Regions from separate parts of the Homo sapiens genome. Here region 2 is linked to region 1. The links are contacts of gene promoters, found by promoter capture Hi-C in blood cells and fetal thymus (Javierre and others, 2016). All regions are on one chromosome and are shown on one strand. Each heading gives the region's core, a stretch centred on a gene start or on the middle of the fragment in contact. The rest is flanking DNA. Distances are from core to core; before and after follow the strand shown. Region 1 holds the start of STAP1 (signal transducing adaptor family member 1). Region 2 overlaps UBA6 (ubiquitin like modifier activating enzyme 6).

Region 1 (5,896 bases), core at 1,968-4,467:
CGTGCCACCATGCCCTGCTAATTTTTGTATTTTTAGTAGAGACGGGGTTTCGCCATGTTGAACAGGTTGGTCTCCATTTCCTGACCTCGTGATCCGCCCACCTGGGCCTCCCAGAGTGCTGGGATTACATGCATGAGCCACCGCTCCCGGCCCACCCACACTCTCTCTTATTTTCAAACGGTCCCAGAAAAAATGAGAAATTTTCCCATTTGTAAGAACTGCGATGCCAATGGTATTCCACTGTGGCATTTAACAGCTTTGATAATAAACACATCTTCCTGGTTAATTCAGAATCCTAGTGCTGTGGCTTAAATAAATCTTCCCACATTATCTTTTCCATAAAGATTATGTGTTTTTCATGGGTTCTTGACCTCAGATTTAGAAACCTTCTAGAATTGCATGCAAAATGGTATACGTTGTTACATTTTCCTGGGGAAAAGCTCTTTAAATACTTAAAAGTGCCCCACAAAAAATAGCTAAGAAGCACCTCTCAGCATTTCATGCCTTTATAGACCAGGTTACTCTTCAGTTATATTTTTTCTAGTTTAAATGTTCTGAATGACTTTGGCAGAGACCCAACTTTACATTCTGCAGAGCCTCTCACCTTCCTCTAGCCAATCAGCTCCAAAGATTACTTGGCTATATACCTTTGGCTCACCTTCTGTTCAAAGATTCCCTGGCACTTTGCTGCCAATTGCTTGGAAATTCCACTTATTTTGCTTAGATTTTTCTCATAGCTTCTATTTTCAAGTACTCTAATTATCACCATGCTCACTCTCCTTGGAGTCATATTACTTGCAGACCTCAAACTAATTTTAGTACCTGAATAAGAGTATGATAAGTGATGAAAGGGTAAGAGAATGAATCTAACCTTTAGTGTGAGCCAGGTGTTTTACATATGCTATCCCTTTAATCCCTGAAACCACCACATAAGTAGGTATTATTGTCATCCTCTTGCTCTCTTCTCCCTGACATACAAGTAAAAGGTACTTAGTGGTCTAACTCAGAGGCCCATGCCTGTAATTCTAGCACATTGGGAGGCCAAGGTGGGCAGGTTGCTTGAGCCCAGGAGTTTGAGACCAACCTGAACAACGTGATGAAACCCTGTCTCTATAAACAATACAAACGTTAGCCGGGTGTGGTATGCGCTTGTAGTCCCAGCTACTCAGGAGGCTGAGGCAGGAGAATCACCGGAGCCGGGGATGTCAAGGCTGCATGACTAGTGATTGCACCATTGCACTCCAGCTTGGGCAACAGAGGAGACACTGTCACACACACACACACACACACAGACACACACCCACACACACAAAGATACTTTACTATAAATTCAAATAGAAACACAAGTTAATTTCATTGGAAATATTTATGCCTATAGGTATTCATTCTGCTTCAAAGAATGCTTTCTAAGAGAAGGTAAAGAGTAGAAATTTGGTAAGGAAGACATCATTCCTACTATATTAAGCCTCTTGAAAATAAAATCTTTGTGTTTTTTTCCATATTCTCCAGAAATGAGTGATGCTTGGTGCATAGGAGGCACACAATAAATGTTGAGTGAATAAATTGATTGAACACCTACTGAATCCTAGAATGTACCTTAGGAGGCAAGTAGCAAGTAGTATACTCTCTATCTTATAGTTGAAACAGTCTCAAGGAGATTGAGTAACTTGCACAAGATCACAAGCTATAAGTGGCAAAACCATCAGATAAAGGACACTCTAAAATTCTTATTCTTTCTGCTAACCATACCAATGACATGTCTTCTTTAAGCATTTAAAAAAAACTGCTATCATAAACAGTTATTATAAATACCTTGGAAAACATTCAATGAACAACCTGATTTAAATTACTAATTAGAATTTTTTTTTCTCAACTTCCCTTTCCTGGCAAAGTGTGACTATGTGGCTTACCTGTGGTGACAAGATTGAATTTACATTAAAAGCATATAGGATCAATCTAAAAAATTCTAATATAACTGAAAGGTAATTATTTATGCATGTTTAACATCCATAACAGAATACAAATTACCATGTCTTTACTCTCAAATAGTAAATGATCTGATTATATATGTAAGAAATGTGAATATGCTATTATAGATTTTTCATATATATAATTTTTCCACAAGTATTCATAAATCCTCAGAAAATATATTTTAGCATCATTAAACATTTCTGATGGAATTTCTGAAAACCTTAAAATTTTTCTAGTTTTAGTCAGTATACAATTTCATAAAATTTGACCTAACTTAATGATTTTTTTATTTAATAACAGGCAATTTTGGGCTTATTTCTCTAATTAATTTCAAGTCATCCATAATTACTGTTTTAAAAGTAATGATTTTAACTAACTATAAGTTTTAATTATTACATTTAAAAATACAGAATGCTTCATGGATTTTCTTAGAGCAAAGGTATTTATGTAGCTTAGTGTACTTAATACCCACAGTAGTACCCCAAAAATTAAAAGTCACTATCTTGAATAGTATTTTAGAACACATAACTATATATAATGTTAAACAGTATGAACTTTGTCATTTTAACAATTTTTACAAAAGCCATTTTTAATAATTTGATCATTATAAACTTCAAATGACTCAGAACAGGAGCAGGTTTAATTTTAATCATGATATCATTTTATCTTAATGGTACATGTCATCATTGAAGCATAGCAATAAATTGTGGAGAAAATACAAGAAACATTTTATCTCCCAAGCCAAAATCTTTTGTGATATTTAAATAAATTCTTTGGAAATTTAGCTTATTGACTTTTTTATATTAGTGCCTTAATATTACAACCTCTGTTATTATACATATTATATATGTGTATACATACAGGTTTAAGCCAGACATTGTATTTAAATTATGAAAAATTGGAATCATTTTTCTGAGCTCAAAGAAGAGAAGATGATTTAATTTCAACAGAAACAAGGAGGTCTTAACACATCACATCACCATGAAATAAATATTAAATTAAAACAGAAGTCTTAGGTTTAACATTATCATCTATAGACTCACCCGGTATCCTGACCGCTTGATTAATAAAAAACCTTCAAAGTACAAAGGTAGAGCAGTAATCTTTAACCTTTCCTGGAAGATCCTGCGAGGGGCTGGTTTTGGGGGCTTCTTAGCCATCATACCCCTCTCTTTGGTGTGTGGTTTGGTTTCTCGTCTCAAACAAAATGAAATCTTCCTTCTGTGAGAGGAAAAGGCAACTGTTCAAAGAGGAAGTCCCAAATTGCTTTTTAACCACCAACACTACCACCAACAGGACACACACACACACAGACGCACACACACACACACACACTTTTTTTTCCATTACTTTTTGTGAGGTAAGAAAGAACAGGTGTAGACTGACTTTCAGAGGGCAATCTCTGGGTAATCCACATGTGCTTAGATTTAAAGCGCAAAATAAACAGAAGATTAACATCACCAGAAGATGAAAGAAACAGGTGTAGAGATTGTGAACTTTAGGGGAGATATCAAGAACACAGTTATTCTTTCTATCTTTGTTTTTGTTTATTGGTGTCCATTTTTATTTGCAGAAGACATGACTTGAATAAACTCAGCTTCATTAAAAATTACTTCATAGAATAATTTTATTAGTACTACTTCTGTTGGTTAAATATTTTAGGGTCAAGTTTTGTGTAAATAAAAAAAATAGTTGTATCTCATGCTCATTTGATGCTTCACTAAATATAAACCACAATTATGGGAACACGGAATATGGAATTTTTTTCTTTTTTCTTTCTTTCTTTTTTTTTTTTTTTTGCCAGTAGATATTCCAAGTACATGAGTTCCCAATGAATATTTAGTGCTATGTTTTGAATGTGTCCTCCAAAACTTATGTGTTAGAAACTTAATCCCCAATGCAACAGTGTTTAGAAATGGGACTTTTAGAAGGTGATTAAGTCATGAGGCCTCTGCCCTCATGAATGAATGAATTAATTAATGCTGTGGGAGTGGGTTTCTTTCTCTTTTTTCAGAGGCAGGGTCTTGCTCTGTTGCCCAGGCTGGAATACACTGGTGCAATCACAGCTCACTGCAGCCTTGACCTCTCAGGCTCAAACAATCCTCACACATCAGCCTCCTAAGTAGCTGGGACTACAAGGCACGCGCCACCACTCCTAGCTAACTTTTTCATTTTTTGTATAGACAGTATCTCCCTATGTTGCCCAGGTTGGTCTCAAACTCTTGGGCTCAAGCGATTCTCCTGCTGTGGCCTCCCAAAGTGCTGGGATTACATGTGTGAGCCATTGCACCTGGCCTGGAAGTGGGTTTTTTATAAAATCAAGTTTGGCACTTTCTCACATGCTATCATCCTCTCTTGCTCTTCTATCTTCTGCCATGGAATGATGCTGCATGAAGGTCCTCATCAGATGCTGGCCATGTTCTTTGACTTCCAGACTCCAGAACCATGAGCGAAATACATTTCTGTTCATTATAAATTACCAGTCTGTGGCATTCTGTTACAGCAACACAAAGGAGTCTAAGATATTTGGCAAAAAAATATCTGGCAGAGAAAGCTGTAAGTTTTCAAACTTTTATTTTGTTCTTTTGTGCTTTCTGAGCTGCAGACCATTGATACTATGATTCATGGATGGACTTCCCACAGTTATCTAGTGAGATTTATAAAGCTATACTGGGGCCAAAGTGCACTCAATGGTTGCATGTAGGAAATGGTCCTTAAGAGATTGGATTTGGCGTAGCACAGTGCAGGAAATGATGGGAGAAAAGAATACTAGAAGGAATTTTGATTTGTCTTACAGGGGTCCTAAGAATTTCTACCATTGCCTATTTCACACTCAGTATTTCAGAACTACTCTAGATTTAGAACAGCCTGGGCCCAGTGAGACCAGCCTATTATTAGAAATCAAAGCAAGTCAGGAGTCTTCAGTCTGATTCTCCTTTCCTAATGGAGAGACTGCATGGTTTTCTCCACCAGTATGGGTCCCACTGATCCTGCAGCTGTAGATATGGGATGACAAATTGTCTACAAAGTGAGGTAGAACAATACGGACTGATTATCAGTAAGTTAGAGAAGAGTGTTCAGATGTATTATCAAAATGAAAACAGCTCAAGACAGAAATAGGGAGTTGAAGATCCAAAATGACTGCTTTGCTTTTGTAAGTTTAGACCTGCTTCTTGCTACCCAACCTTCAAATAATAAAATATAAGTCCAACTGAATTTTTTGAGGCAAAAACCATAACTATTTTTTAGTTTCGGTATACTAAGAAAGTGACTTGAATAACAGGAAAACCTCCTGATTGAATATATGACCTAATCCACTTTCTTGGCAGCTGTTAGTTGTTGTAATACAGGGGGGAAGTGAAAGGAGGGATTAAGAATTGAAAAATGAAAAGAAGCAAGGATAAAGAAAGAATGCTGGGAATCATCAGTGATTACGCACTGACTTTATGGTCAGAAAGTTTCATAGGTGAGAGAAAATAATACCTCTAAAAAAATGTAAAGGGGATTTTTTGTTGTTGTTAAATAAGCACTTAGTTTTTTTTTTGCCTTTAAAATATAAGCAACAATTTAAAAACAGCTAATCAGACACAGTAAGTTACTTTGGTCTGCTGATTTGTTCGTCAAATTCATTCTTAATATACCAAGAATCAAATTATATCTCCCTGAAAAAGACTACAAAATGCAAAAATCTTGCTTAAACAATATTAACAAGTTAGTCCTGTCTGCAATGACTAGTGTCATTGCACCACTGCACCATTACAATGGAAATCCTCTTACAGATACCTCAAGTCTTAGGCAGTGAAGAATAAATTTGTAGGTAAGGAAATATAGTAGAAAATATGTTTGGACATAGGGCATAAACTAATTTTGCTACTAACCAGCTCTTGAGACCTTGAACAAACCACTTGACTTCTCTGGTATCATA
Region 2 (5,896 bases), core at 1,768-4,267, 91 kb before region 1:
AACGCCATGCTATGAGAACCACTGCTCTCTTCAGTGCTGTCAGACAGGGACATTTAAGTCTGCAGAAGTTGTCTGCTGCCTTTTGTTTAGCTAAGCCCTGCCCACAGAGGTTGAGTCTATAGAGGCAGTAGGCCTTGCTGAGCTGGGGTGGGCTCCACTCAGTTCAAGCTTACCAGCTGCTTTGTTTACCTACTCAAGCCTCAGCAATGGCGGACACCTGTATGCCCGCCAGGCTGCAGCCTCGCAGGTGGATCTCAGACTGCTGCGCTAGCAGTGAGCAAGGCTCCATGGGCGTGGGATCCACCAAGCCAGGCACAGGAGAGAATCTCCTGGTCTGCCGGTTGCTAAGATGGTGAGGAAAGTGCAGTATTTGGGCGGAAGTGTACCGTTTTTCCAAGGATAGTCTGTCATGGCTTCCCTTGGCTAGGAAAGGGAAATCCCCTGACCCCTTGTGCTTCCTGGGTGAGGTGACATACCGCCCTGCTTCGGCTCGCCCTCCATGGGCTGCACCCACTGTCCAACCAGTTCCAGTGGGATGAACCAGATACCTCAGTTGGAAATGCTGAAATCACCTGTCTTCTGCATCGATCTCGCTGGGAGCTGCAGACGAGCTGTTCCTATTCGGCCATCTGGGAGGACCAAGACCATGTTTAATTTTATAAGAAACTGCCAAACTGTTTTGCAAAGTAGCTGTACCGTTTTGTATTCTCACCAGAAGTGTATGAGAATTTCAGTTGTGCTGCATCTTCCTTACACTCTGTGTTGTCTGTTTATATGATTTTAAACATTTTTATGTGTGTGGTAGTATCTCATTTTGGTTTTCATTTTCATATCACTGGCCATGAATTTGAATATCTTTTAATATGCTTATTTGCCATTCATATGTCTTCTTTAATAAACTGTCTTTTGAAATCTTTGCCTGTTTTTAAAATAGCTTTTAATTATTGGTTGAGAGGGTTTTTATATGTCTTTATATATTTGGATATGAGTTCTTTATCAGATACGTGTTTTACAATAGTCTCTGAAATTCAATTTATCAAATCACAAAAAGAATACTTTTTGTGGTTTGTGCTTTTTTGTCTTAAGAGCTTTTTTAACACAGGGTCAAAAAGCTGTTTTCTTCTAGACAATTCATATTTTTGTAATTTTATAAGTTCATTTTTGCATATGGTGCAAAGTATTGATAAAGACATGATCATACAAAGTACAGATCAGTGTACATGACTTTACACTAATTTTATGCACTCTTTTGTAGTTTTATGAGTTTGTCTTTATATACTGCACAAAGTATAGATGAAAGTTAATTTTTTTGTGTATGAATGTCCAGCTATTCTAGCCCATTTGTTGAAAAGGCTATTCTTTATTGAAATGTCATGGCATTTTTGTCAACAGTTTTTTTTAACCATATATATGTAGGTCTATTTCTGTACTCTATTGTCTTCATGTTGTTTCTGTCCTTTTGCCAGCTCCATCCTGTCTTGCTTATTGTGGCTTTTATATTAAGTCTTGAAGTCAGGTTTAGTCTGTTTCTCAAAAAGAGCTCAGAATTATGGTATTCCCTGAGTTTTTATATGTTTCATATTTTTTCTGTAGTTTTCATACTTGTAAGCTTGGCTAGATGTAAAATTCTGGGCTCTTACTTTGTTCACTGGTATCTTGCTTTATATTTTACTGTTGAAAAATCAGATGGCAGCCGAATTTTCATACTGTTAGAAGTAATCTGGTCTTTTTGCTTTAAGGCCCTATGTGTTTAATCTTTGTCTTCATCTAATAGTTTTACCAGGTTATATCTCAGAGTTGATTATTCAGTAAAGTTTCTTACGTACACCATAAGCCCATTTTGATATGCAGAGTCAAATGTTGTTTAAGTATTTCTTTTCTTTTCTGGAAGGGTAGAATGGATCATTTCTGTTCTTAGTTTTTAAATTCCTGATTCAAGGTTTTTTGTGTTGTTTTTTTCCCCTACGTTGCCAAGTGCTTGTTAAGAATATGTAATTCACTTAAATATCCTCTGACTTTTGGTTAGTTGTGGGGGTGTGGATTTTCAGTAGCTGAAATGTTTTGATTCTGGTTTTCTGTTTTCTTCTTACATTAGCTTTGTAAAGTAGAATGCTTTTTGTGCTTACTTTTTGGACAGGATAAGGGTTTTAGGTGCTTTTTAGATTCCTACTTTTGTAGTATTCTCTTCTCTTAGGATACTGAAAAGGAGCTTCTAATGGATGACCTTTTTGTGGTGGAGAGGTATTGGTGTGTTTTGTAGGTCTCTTTGATTTTTACCAAACTCTTAACATCTCTCTCTTTAGCTTTCTCTCTCAAAGAATGTCTCCCCTCTTTTGTTTACATCTTTCTCTCCCAGGATGACATTCTTTGACAGCTGATATCTGCCACCAGTTTTATACCTCTCATCAATATTTTCTGCACTTAGTGTGGGTCTTTCTTTTTCTTAGGACTGTGTTTTGTTACCATAAGGCCTTTCACTCTCTTCTGTGATCTCTTCGTATTTTCTGCTCTCTGTCCGAGATTGTAACAATGTGAAATCCAGAGAGAGTGCTGATGGAGTTTGCAATCTGTCTTTCTACTTACAAGTAATTTGAAATTTATAATATTCTGTTTTCTAGTAATACTGAAGCCCTGTCACTGTTTTATTTCTCTTCTTGTGATTATGCATATGTTTTGGAGATTATTTGGGGAAATTTAGCTATAGGCTGCCGTCTTTATCCTATGGTAACCAAAAATTCCCAAAATTTAGATGTTTGTGTACTAAAAAATAAGGAATCCTGGGAGGTTGCATAACCTAATGCTGAGAATAAACCTATAAAGTTGGACTTTTTCGGTCCAGATCCTGGCTTCACCATTTACTAGCTATAAAATATTGAATAAGTTACTTAATTTTTCAATGTTTCAGTTTTCTTACTTGTATAATAGAAATTATATTTATAAGGATTATTTTGAAGGTTGTGTAAGGACTTAATAGATAACCTGGCATGGTAAGTACCCACTTATACTGTTATTATCATTCTCATCATTGTTTTTAATATTATCACCACCAACAATATCTGCATTCAAAAATTGCAGAATTTAAATTGTAATTGATCTTGGTTGAGGCTAGTGCTCAATAGTTGTAAATAATGAGATATAGAAAGTTGAAATGGAGGGGTGGAATAGTAAGTAGTAACCATTTTGTGTCACAAATATTTTTGAGAGTGTAATAAAAACTCTTCTCTGTCCTCTCCTCTGTGTACAAGAACTCTTCTTTTACATAGGATTTCAAAAGATTAATTAGGCAAACTTGAAGTTTAGTGATAAAATTAAGATTACTAATGTTTAAAGAATAAGAAGAGAAAGAAAACAGGGCTCGTGAAAAGATCTTTGTCACATATAAGAAATTGCTGAAATAATAGATCTAAAATTCAGTTTTCCAATATTTCCTTTAAAATGTTCTGTTTTGAGATACATAACTTTTAAGTGTAATTGAAAACATTATCTCTAAGTGTATTGTGTTATTATTAATTGCAGTTTTTATTTACAACTTTCAACACAAACTGATAGCTTATCATTTTTAAGATCATTTTATTTTCCTTTATCATAGTTCAGGGTTTTTTCATAGTAGTTTTCATTAACAAACTTTTTAAATTAAAAAAAATCTGTTTATTTGTAAATATGTCTGACTGGCATCACAGAACTGTTCTTTGACAAAAACTATAAATGGTAGATATTCGAGTTAATTATAAATGATGCCCTAGAGTGACATATAGAATCCAAAGACAAAAATGGGCAGATACTAGTAAAGGGAGACACTACTTAAGGTAACACGCAAATGGGTCTGTTATCATGAAATTGGGACATTTTTAGAGATATTTAGTAGGGGAACTGAATAGCTTTTTTAGAAGTTAAGTTCTAATTCTCACATTTAGTCATTGGAATTTTAAGTGTACTGTGTAAATGCTGTTAATGTTATTGTCTTTTATGGCTTTTGTTTTAGCCTGATGTAAATGCTGACATTGTGCATTGGCTCTCTTGGACTGCCCAAGGCTTTTTATCTCCACTTGCTGCAGCAGTAGGAGGTGTTGCCAGCCAAGAAGTATTGAAAGCTGTAACAGGAAAATTTTCTCCTTTGTGCCAGTGGGTTAGTTCTGAGTTTTTAAAGTTGAATTCTTTACTCGTGAAATGGAATGTGTTACATATTATAATGTAGTATTAATATATTAGAAAAGCGACCTTAAAATACTTTTTGATGCATGAAAGAGATGCAAGCAGTATGCCTCCAACACTTGATTCTATGATTGAAATTAACAGGATGATATTTTAGGGCTATTGAGATATAACCCAAAGTTGCCTTCTCAAATATATTTCCCTTAGTTGTGATAGTAAGGGAATGAATGTTCTATCCTTATAGGTAATTGTTCTCCAGTACCATAAGCTTAGCATTCTCGGGCTCTCAGGACTCTTGAATTTGTTCCATGGAATCTTTTACTATCATGAACGTTCAGGTTCCCTTTCTAGGTATAAACTTACAAAAGTGGAAAACATGGGAGTGGTACAGGTTTTAGAGTTACATGGGGTATGAACATCACAAGATGGAATAAAAATCCCCATTTCTTTTGCCAGCAGAAATAATTGGCACAAGGTGTGAAAGGATACTGCCTCCAGGCCCTCTCTCTGTTGAAACACCATAAACATTTTGAATATACCATTTATCTTTTTTTTTTAATTTTTTTTTTTTTTTGAGACAGAGTCTCACACTGTTACCCAGGCTGGAGTGCAATGGCGCGATGTTAGCTCACTGCAACCTCTGTCTGCCGGGTTCACGCGATTCTCCTGCCTCAGCCTCCCAAGTAGCTGGGGTTACAGATGCAGACCACCACACTTGGCTAACTTTTTGTGTTTTTAGTAGAGATGGGATTTCATTATGTTGGCCAGACTGGTCTCAAACTCCTGACTTCGTGATCCACCCGCCTCGGCCTCCCAAAGTGCTGGGATTACAGGCGTGAGCCACTGCGCCCGGCTCATTTTTTTATATTTTAAAAGGTACTCACATAATGCTATTTTTGCTGCTGAATTATTTATTTCAACACAGAATACAAGTACATTAGTAAAAATCTGGTTTAAAGATGACCGTTAAGGCAGGCGCAGTGGCTCATGCCTGTAATCCTAGCACTTTGAGCAGCCGAGGCGGGCAGATCACGAGGTCAGGAGATCAAGACCATCCTGGCTAACATGGTGAAACCCCTTCTGTACTAAAAATACAAAAAATTAGCCGGGCATGGTGGCACGCCCCTGTAGTCCCAGCTACTCGGGAGGCTGAGGCAGGAGAATCGCTTGAACCTGGGAGGCGGAGGTTGTAGTGAGCCGAGATTGTGCCACTGCACTCCAGCCTGGGCGACAGAGTGAGACTCTGTCTCAAAAAAAAAAAAAAAACACCATGAGAAATAATAGAAATTAATTGTTAATATAGATTCTGTGTTATAATAAAATAAATAACCATTTGTTCATGTTCAAATTTAGCCACACAAGTTACTTAAATGAAAATGAGATTAAGACTCAGTTCTTTTCTTCATTAACTTAAATTAATTATCTTTGGTATTTTTAAAAATGCTGAAATTTTGGTTTCCTAGATTATTTTCCTATAGTGTGTGAAATTATAGATGACATACACATACACATAGTATGTATAATTATAGATTATATATCCAAGCTGAAAAATAAATACAGAGTAGGTACTTTCTTCTCAAAAAGTAATCAAATTATGACTGGGCGCAGTGGCTCATGCCTGTAATACCAGCACTTTGGGAGGCCGAGGTGGGCAGATCACCTGAGGTCGGGAGTTCAAGACCAGCCTAGCCAACATGGTGAAACCCCATGTCTACTAAAAATACAAAAAAATTAGCCAGGCATG

Evidence for each region. Contacts are between HindIII fragments. The CHiCAGO score rates a contact against its expected background, and 5 or more counts as called.
Region 2: a contact is called between a fragment that was not itself captured here and the fragment with the promoter of STAP1 in region 1, in 13 of 17 cell types (total B cells, naive B cells, activated CD4 T cells and 10 more). The highest score is 13.6, in total B cells.

The regions. Positions count from the first base shown.
Region 1 is chr4:67,556,048-67,561,943 of GRCh38, reverse strand. STAP1 (signal transducing adaptor family member 1) reads right to left here and starts at 3,217. Exons shown (of 9, transcript NM_012108.4): 1 at 3,015-3,217. The coding sequence starts at 3,134. The HindIII fragment of the contact is 12,125 bases long and covers 1-5,896 here.
Region 2 is chr4:67,647,298-67,653,193 of GRCh38, reverse strand. UBA6 (ubiquitin like modifier activating enzyme 6) reads left to right here. Exons shown (of 33, transcript NM_018227.6): 14 at 3,983-4,126. Among named protein-coding and RNA genes, the nearest start is that of UBA6, 51 kb to the left of the region's middle. The HindIII fragment of the contact is 2,811 bases long and covers 1,612-4,422 here.